3 separate regions of the Homo sapiens genome follow, and regions 1 and 3 are each linked to region 2. Evidence: promoter capture Hi-C in human tissues and cell types (Jung and others, 2019). All regions are on one chromosome and are shown on one strand. The core of a region is centred on a gene start or on the middle of the fragment in contact, and the rest is flanking DNA. Distances in the headings are between cores, read along the strand shown.

Region 1 (2,700 bases), core at 162-2,661, 45 kb after region 2:
TTGTATCTATTTTAAAAATAAATTTCTCATATGATTATGATATAATCACCCCAGCCCTAGTCTATAGGTTAGCATTTGAGAATCATTGCTCTAAGTTGCTCTGGACTACTTCTTTGTTTTTTGAGACAGAGTCTCATTCTGTCACCAGGCTGGAGTGCAGTGGTGCGATCTCAGCTCCCTGCAACCTCTGCCTCCCAGGTTCAAGTGATCCTCGTGCCTCAGACTCCCCAGTAGTTGGAATTATAGGCATGTGCCACCACAGCCAGCTAATTTTATTTTTTTTCAATTTTTTTGAGACAGAGTCTCACTCTTGTTGCCCAGGCTGGGGTGCAGTGGCGCCATCTCAGCTCACTGCAACCTCCACCTCCAGGGTTCAAGCTATTCTCCTGCCTCAGCCTCCCAAATAGCTGGGATTACAGGTGTCTGCCACCATGCCCGGCTAATTTTTGTATTTTTAGTGGAGATGGGGTTTCGCCATGTTGCCCAGGCTGGTCTCGAACTCCTGAGCTCAGCTGATCCACCTGCCATGGCCTCCCAAAGTGCTGGGATTACAGGCGTGAGCCACCGTGCCCGGCCTACTGGACTACTTCTCACTGATCTTCAGTCATCCATATACCTGTTTGTATGCCATTGCTTTTCCAGTTCTCTAAGTCCTGAATACCTTCTTCTCTTTTGTTTTTCTTATCCAATCCTTTTGTGTGTGGGGGTGAGGGGAGAGGTCTTCCTCTGTCACCCAGACTGGAGCGCAGTGGCACGATGATAGCTCACTGCAGCCTCAAACTCCTGGGCTCAAGTGATCCTATTGGCTCAGCCTCTTGAGTAGCAAGGACCACAGGCGGGTACCACCATGCTTGGCTAATATTTTTCTTATATTTTTGGAGACGGATATCACTCTGTGGCCCGGGTTGGTCTCAGACTCCTGACTTTCTGGCCTCAAGCAATCTCCTGCCTGGGACTCCCAAAGCACTGAGATTATAGGAGTGAACCACAGTGTCTGGCCAATCTTAAAGATTCTTCAAAGTTTAGGCCGGGCGCAATGGCTCACGCCTGTAATCCCAGCACTTTGGGAGGCCGAGGTGGGCAGATCACGAGGTCAGGAGATCGAGACCATCCTGGCTAACATGGTGAAACCCCGTCTCTACTAAAAACACAAAAAATTAGCCAGGCGTGGTGGCGGGCGCCTGTAGTCCCAGCTGCTCGGGAGGCTGAGGCAGGAGAATAGCATGAACCTGGGAGGCAGAGCTTGCAGTGAGCTGAGATCACGCCACTGCACTCCAGCCTGGGCGACAGAGTGGGACTCCATCTCAAAAAAAAAAAAAAAGATTCTTCAAAGTTTAATGAAAATGCTATCTCCTCCTCCTCAGAGTAGCAAGGACTCCACCCTTCTGCTGAGAAAATCACTCCTTCCTAAGTGCTTCTACAATAAATTTATTTTTGTCATAGTAGTTGTTATATTCTGTACTTTATAATAGTTGTTTGCTCATCTCTTTGTAAAATTACTGAGGACAGACACTTTTTCTTGCACAAAATAGGTACTGTATTGTTTTGTATCATACACTAAGGAAATGAAAGAAGACCTTGAAAGGAATAGACCAAGTAATAGAACTAAGCAGTATAGAGAGAATATTTTAGTCTTTGCATAAGGTGGTTTGCAAAGCCTTGTTTTGGTCCAGTAAATCTAGGATTAGGTTAGCAATTAGGATTCATCTTGCTTGGGGAATCTGATTGGATCGTATGTTGAGAAGGATTCTGAGGGCACATTATGGCTCATTGAGAAAGATAGCTATTAGATAATAAAATGTTGGATTGTCTCAGGTATTTTGACTGAACATAGGATATTTTGCAATAATATTAGGTTGATGCAAAAATAATTGCAGTTTTTGCCCTTAAAAGTAATGGCAAAACCGCAATTACTTTTGCACCAACCTAATAGCTAACAAATATATAATACACATCAAGCAGTATTCTAAGCACAAAACACACATCAACTCATTATTTACCCTGACAATCCATTAAGGTAAGTTCTATTAATAGCCCCATTTTGCAGGTAGGGAAACTGAGACATAGAGAAGTCAACTAACTTCCTCAAGTCACACTGCTGGTAATTCTGGCTCCAGACGATTCTGCCATTGTCACTGCTATGTTGCTGTTCTAATGAACATTCCATGTTTTCAGAAACACTGTGGTAGTTAGCATATACAGCTATGCTTCTATGGTATGAAAGGGGCAAAATAGATTTGTTGCTTGCTAATGTGATAATAGACCAGACTTCCCAAATGTCTACCTTAGATTAGAAAGATTTATCTTTCCTGATCCGTATAGTCATGTCTGATCCTTTGTGTTTTATTTCTTTAGGGTCCCTTGCCAGCTCCATCTTTGACCCACTCAGATATCTTGTGGGAGCTTCAGGAGGAGTCTATGCTCTGATGGGAGGCTATTTTATGAATGTTCTGGTGGTAAGAACCATGGGGATGGAGTCCACGAGTCTCTTAAAAAAACAGAAAACAGTAACTCTTCTTTGTTTCAACGAACCTTCATTTATCAATATTTACTGAGCACTCAATTTTCTGAGAATTGTATGGCAATGCCATTTTGTTTCCTTTCTTTTCTTTCTTTTTTTTTGAGACAGAGTCTTGCACCATTGCCCAGGCTGGAATGCAGTGGTGTGATAATGGCTCACTGCACTTCTGCCTCCTGGGC
Region 2 (2,939 bases), core at 286-2,785:
CAGGAGTTCGTGATCACCCTGGGCAACAGAGTGAAATTCCATCTCTACAAAAAATTTAAAAACTGGCTGACCATGGTGGTGGGTGCCTGTAGTCCCAGCTACACAGGCAGCTGAAGTGGGAGGATCACTTGAGTCCAGGAGTTCAAGGCTGCTTCAAGCTATGAGTGCACCACTGCACTCTAGCCTGGGTAACTGAGAGAGATCCTATTTTTTCTTTTTTCTTTTTTTTTGAGATGGAGTCTCACTCTGTTGCCCAGGCTAGAGTGCAGTGGCGCAATCTCGGCTCACTGCAACCTCTGCCTCCCAGAGAGACCCTGTATTGCAACAAACAAACGAACAAACAAACAAACAATCTTTCTATGACTCCCCAGAACCTATAGGACACAGTCCAAACTGTTTACCAAGGCACACAAGGCCCTTCATGATCTGACACTCCCTGCTCACAATTCTGAACTTTGAGTAGTTCCTGCTGAATTCCGTCCCTTCCCATGGCCTTTTCTGTCAGCCTGTGCTCCCCTTCTGTGTGCTCCCCGCTTACAATTCTGGAAAACCCCTGTTCACCTTTCAAAACCCATCTTGTATGTCATGTCATCTAGGAGCTTTTCCAGAACACTTCCACACAGGGGGATTCCTCTCTGGTCCCTTCTGCCTGAATTTTTTTTTTTTTTTTTTTTTGAGACCGAGTTTCGCTGTTGTTGCCCAGGCTGGAGTGCAATGGCGTGATCTTGGCTCACTGCAACCTCCGCCTCCCGGGTTCAAGCGATTCTCCTGCCTCAGCCTCCCGAGTGGCTGGGATTACAGGCATGCACCACCATGCCCAGCTAATTTTGTATTTTTAGTAGAGATGAGGTTTCTCCATGTTGATCAGGCTGGTCTCGAACTCCCGACTTCAGGTGATCCACCCACCTCAACCTCCCAAAGTGCTGGGATTACAGGCGTGAGACACCATGCCTGGCCACCTTCTGCCTGAATCTTGAGCAGCGTCTACTTAGAGCTTCATTCTTTGTCTTCCTAGTAGAGTAGGAGGTCAGGGACCCCGTTAATCTACCTCTTCATCCTCAGGGCCTCACACAAGGCCAGTTATTCTCAAAATGCTTTGAATGAATAATCAGAGCTGGCAAAGCTATTTCACCAGGGGCCATGGTGTCACCAATTCTTCTGTGGACTAAATCTCTGCTGAGGATCGTCAAGTCACCCACCCTGGTGCCCAGTACAGGCCTGGCTTCAGACTGGAGCATAACCAAATGCAGAGTGATAGAGACCACCCGGTTGAGGCGTCAGAGAGCTGAGAGTGGAGAGCAGGGGACCCAGGCATGAAGCAGGAGGGCAGGACTTGGAGGAGGAATGGAGCTCAGTGTCCTGGAGAAAGAGCAGAGGCTGCCACCGGCTCCCTGGCTAAGACCCAAGCAGGCGAAGAGGAGGACTCATTCATCCAGGGCCAGCCCAGGAGCAAGACTGCCAAGCAGGCCGGCCCAGCCCAGCTGGGAGGGGATTTCCTCAGCCTCCCTCCTCCTGGGCTGGGCAGCTTTGGAACCTGTCTGGAGGATTTTTGTTTGGGGAGGGACGGAGGAGCGCCTGGCAGAGCGGGATCTTCAGGGCAGCGGGCAACCCCTTGGCCCAGGAAGCCTGGAACGCAAGGACCGGAGGGCGTGGGCTGGGACGCCCCTACCTTGGTCTTTCAGGGTAAGATGTGGGAGCTGGGAGGGAGTGGAGGGAGTCCTATGTCAGGACAAGGGGGCGGCAGCAGGAAGTGCAGGGCCGAGGGGTGCTGTGCAGGAAGGAGGAGGGACATGTGGGGTGCTTCGCTGGTAACCCCCCTTCTGGAGTGACCTCCTGGTGTGGCCGCTTTGGATCCTGCTACTTTCATTTTAAAAGTTGGCAGCATGTTGGGCCAGGAGTCAGGGGCTATCTTCCCGAGGGAAATGGCAGGGAAGGGCTGAGGATGAGGACAGAGTAATTCCATTCCTCTTCCCTGCCCTTCACACTGGCTTTCCCTCCAGCCATCACGTTCTCCCCAGCACCCCCTACCCTCCTAAGTTTTTCTAACTCCAACTAAGCCAGTTCCTAGCCCTTTGCTGACCTGGACACTGGAGACCACAGCCAGGGAGACAGTCTCCACTTCTACCCGCAAGGCGGCTCCTCCAGAGTTATTTGTTTCCTTCTTCCTGGTGTGGGTATCAGAGAGATTTCACTCAATCTTTCATTTATTCATTAGTGTTCATTTGTTTATTCATCACTGTTTGAGCATATACCTGGATTCTCTGGAGGGAGGGCTGCGCAATTTCTGCTCCTCTTGGGAATAAGAAAACTGAAACTTATTGCTCAAACATTTGATGGTCATCTACAAGCTGGTGGGCAGCATGGCAGAGCAGAAAATTATTTTGGAGTCACAAAGACACTTGGCTTTTTATCCCATATCTCCTGTTTACCTCCTGAGCCTCAGTTTCCTCAGCTATAATTTTTTTTTAAAGAGACAGGGTCTTGCTACCTTGCCCAGGCTGCAGTGCAGTGGCTGATCATAGCTTACTACAACTTCAAACTCCTGTGCTCAAGCAGTCTTCTTGCCTCAGCTTCCTGAGTTAACTGAGGCACGGCGGCCAGCTCAAAATGATATTTTTATGAAGATGACAGGGAACAATGCATGTTGAATACCAAGCTGGGTGCCAGGCTCATTGTGGAGCCTTCCTAAACACCTGTGCTTTTCCCTTCCTCTTTGACTGCCTTCTTGCCATGCCTCTCCCTAACCAGCAACTCCCTCACCTTAGGCTTGTAAAGATATGCTAGACAACCCCTGGCCTTGAAAGCACGTAGGCAGCGTGTAAACAGAACTGGCCAGTGACGGGTGGAGTGGTGAAGGGAGAGGGAAGGTTGGGTTCCATGGCTCGCTCCCAGTGATTTGGGAGGCCGAGGCGGGAGGATTCCTTGAGTCCAGGAGTTCG
Region 3 (2,781 bases), core at 141-2,640, 35 kb before region 2:
CTAACAACTTCTATCAAGGACCGCTGGACCGATCCACTGGCCCTTTGGCCTAAAGCATTCCCCTCTGGAGGACACTACAACTGCAGGGCCCCTTCTTTGCCCCTATCCAGCAGGAAGTAGCTAGAACGGTCATCGCCCAATTCCCAACAGTAGTTGGGGTATCCTGTTTAAAGGGGGGATTGAGAGGTGAAGCCAGCTGGGCTTCTGGGTCGGGTGGGGACTTGGAGAACTTTTCTGTCTAGCTACAGGATTGTAAACACACCAGTCAGTGCTCTGTGTCTAGCTAAAGGTTTGTAAATGCACCAATCAGCACTATGTAAAAACGCACCTATCAGCACTCTGTGTCTAGCTAAAGATTTGTAAATGCACCAATCAGCACTCTCTAAAAATGGACCAATCAGCACGCCATAAAATGGACCAATTAGCACTCTGTAGAATGGACTGATCAGCAGGATGTGGGTGGGGCCAAATAAGGGACTAAAAGCTGCCACCCAAGATGGCAGCCGCAACCCACTCGGGTCCCCTTCCACACTGTGGAAGCTTTGTTCTTTCACTCTTCACAATAAATCTTGCTGCTCCTCACTCTTTGAGGAGGAGCACCACCTTTAAGAGCTGTAACACTCATTGCGAAGGTCTGCAGCTTCACTCCTGAAGTCAGTGAGACCACAAACCCACCGGGAGGAACAAACAACTGCGGACATGCCACCTTTAAGGGCTGTAACACTCACCGGGAGGGTCTGTGGCTTCACTCCTGAAGTCAGCAAGACCACAAACCCACCGGAAGGAACCAATTCCAGACACACCTGTCACTAAAAAAAAAAAAAAAAAAAAAAAAAAAAAAAATTCTCAATAATATAAAATACCCAGGGCCCGGTGTGGTGGGACTTCCTGTAGTCCCAGCTACTTAGGAAGCGGATGCAGGATTGTTTGAGCATAGAAGTTCAAGGCCAGCCTGGTAACACAGTGAGACTCTGTCTCTAAAAAAAGATTTTTAAATTTTTTATCCTAAAAAATTTTTCATAGGCCAGGCATGGTGGCTCATGCCTGTAATCCCAGCACTTTGGGAGACTGAGGTGGGTGGATCACGAGGTCAAGAGACCAAGACCATCCTGGCCAACATGGTGAAACCCTGTCTCTACTAAAAATACAAAAATTAGCTGGGCGTGGTGGCACGTGCTGGTAGTCCCAGCTACTCGGGAGGCTGAGGCAGGAGAATCACTTGAACCCAAGAGGCGGAGGTTGCAGTGAGCTGAGATCGTGCTACTGCACTCCAGCCTAGAGCGAGACTCCGTCTCAAAAAAAAAATTTTTTTTTGTAGAGACGGCCTCCCTCTCTCACCCAGCCTGGAGTGCTGTGGTGCAATCTTGACTCCCTGAAGCCTTGAACTGCGGAGCTCAAGTTTTCCTCCCACCTCAGCCTCCTGAGTAGCTGAGACTACAGGCAAATGTCACCATGACTGGCTAATTAAAACAACTTTTTTTTTTGCTCATGCCTGTAATCCCAACACTTTGGGAGGCCGAGGTGGCTGAATCACTTGAGCCCGGGAGCCTGGGCAACATGGTGAAACTTTATCTCTACAAAAAATACAAAAATAAGCCAGGCGTAGTGGCATGAGCCTATAGTGCTAGCTACTTGGGAGGCTGAGGTGGGAGGATCACTTGAGACCAGGAGGCAGGTTGCAGTAAGCTGAGATCTCGCCACTGCACTCCAGTCTGGCTGACAGAGCCAAAATAAATAAATAAAAACAAAACAAAAAAATAAGACAAAACTGTAGAGACAGGATCTGGCTATGTTGCCCAGGCTGGTCTCCAACTCCTGGCCTCAAGCAATCCTCCTGCCTCAGCAGCCCCCAAAGTGCTGGGATTACAAGTGTTAGCCACCATGCCTGGTAAAAAGTTTTTTCAAATACCTATAAATAAGCTGAACAAAGTCACAGGATGTATATGAAGAATATAATAAAAATGTTACTGAACAACATAAAGTTCAAAGCTAGACAAGTAGAAAGTTATTTGTTCTTGGATAAGAAAACTTAACGTTGTAACAACAAAAATATTTAAAAATACTTATATTTAATGCAATTCCAATTAGAATTCTGGCAGGCAGGTTTTTTGTTTGTTTGTTTGAGACGGAGTCTCGGTTTGTCACCTAGGCTGGAGTGCAGTGGTGCAATCTCGGCTCACTGCAACCTCTGCCTCTGTTCAAGCAATTCTCCTGCCTCAGCCTCCCAAGTAGCTGGGATTACAGGCATCCACCACCATGCCCAGCTAATTTTTGTATTTTTAGTAGAGATGGGGTTTCTCCATGTTGGCTAGGCTGGTCTCGAACTCCTGACCTTGAACTCCTGATCTCAAGTGATCCACCTGCCTCGGCTTACCAAAGTGCTGGGATTACAAGCGTGAGCCACCGCACCTGGCCAGGCAGGCAGTTTTTAAGAAATCATTAAAATAACCTTAAATCCATATGGAAGAATTTATACCCTAGAATAAACTAGGAAAGTATGAACATGGAGTACAGTGAAGGGGAACTACTTGCTTAACCAGATACCAGAACATCCACAAACCTACTTTAATCAAATTAGTATAATATTGGCATAGGAATAGAATACTGGAAAAGAATAGAAAATCTAGAGGCTGGGCACAGTGGCTCACGCCCGTAATCCCAGCACTTTGGGAGGCCAAGGCGGGTGGATCACTTGAGGTCAGGAGTTTGAGACCAGCCTGGCCAACAGGGTGAAACCCTGTCTCTACCAAAAAATACAAAAATTAGCCGGGCGTGGTGGCA

Evidence for each region. Contacts are between HindIII fragments. The study calls those that stand out against the background at their distance.
Region 1: a fragment that was not itself captured here is called in contact with the fragment with the promoter of RHBDL2 in region 2 in 2 of the 25 tissues and cell types used here (neural progenitor cells and spleen).
Region 3: a fragment that was not itself captured here is called in contact with the fragment with the promoter of RHBDL2 in region 2 in 1 of the 25 tissues and cell types used here (aorta).

The regions. Positions count from the first base shown.
Region 1 is chr1:38,895,725-38,898,424 of GRCh38, reverse strand. It overlaps RHBDL2 (rhomboid like 2), which reads left to right. Exons shown (of 8, transcript NM_017821.5): 5 at 2,356-2,456. Among named protein-coding and RNA genes, the nearest start is that of GJA9-MYCBP, 15 kb to the right of the region's middle. The HindIII fragment of the contact is 8,075 bases long and covers 1-2,700 here.
Region 2 is chr1:38,940,426-38,943,364 of GRCh38, reverse strand. It overlaps RHBDL2 (rhomboid like 2), which reads left to right and starts at 1,535. Exons shown (of 8, transcript NM_017821.5): 1 at 1,535-1,683. The HindIII fragment of the contact is 22,458 bases long and covers 1-2,939 here.
Region 3 is chr1:38,975,709-38,978,489 of GRCh38, reverse strand. No RefSeq gene overlaps it. Among named protein-coding and RNA genes, the nearest start is that of AKIRIN1, 14 kb to the left of the region's middle. The HindIII fragment of the contact is 9,927 bases long and covers 1-2,781 here.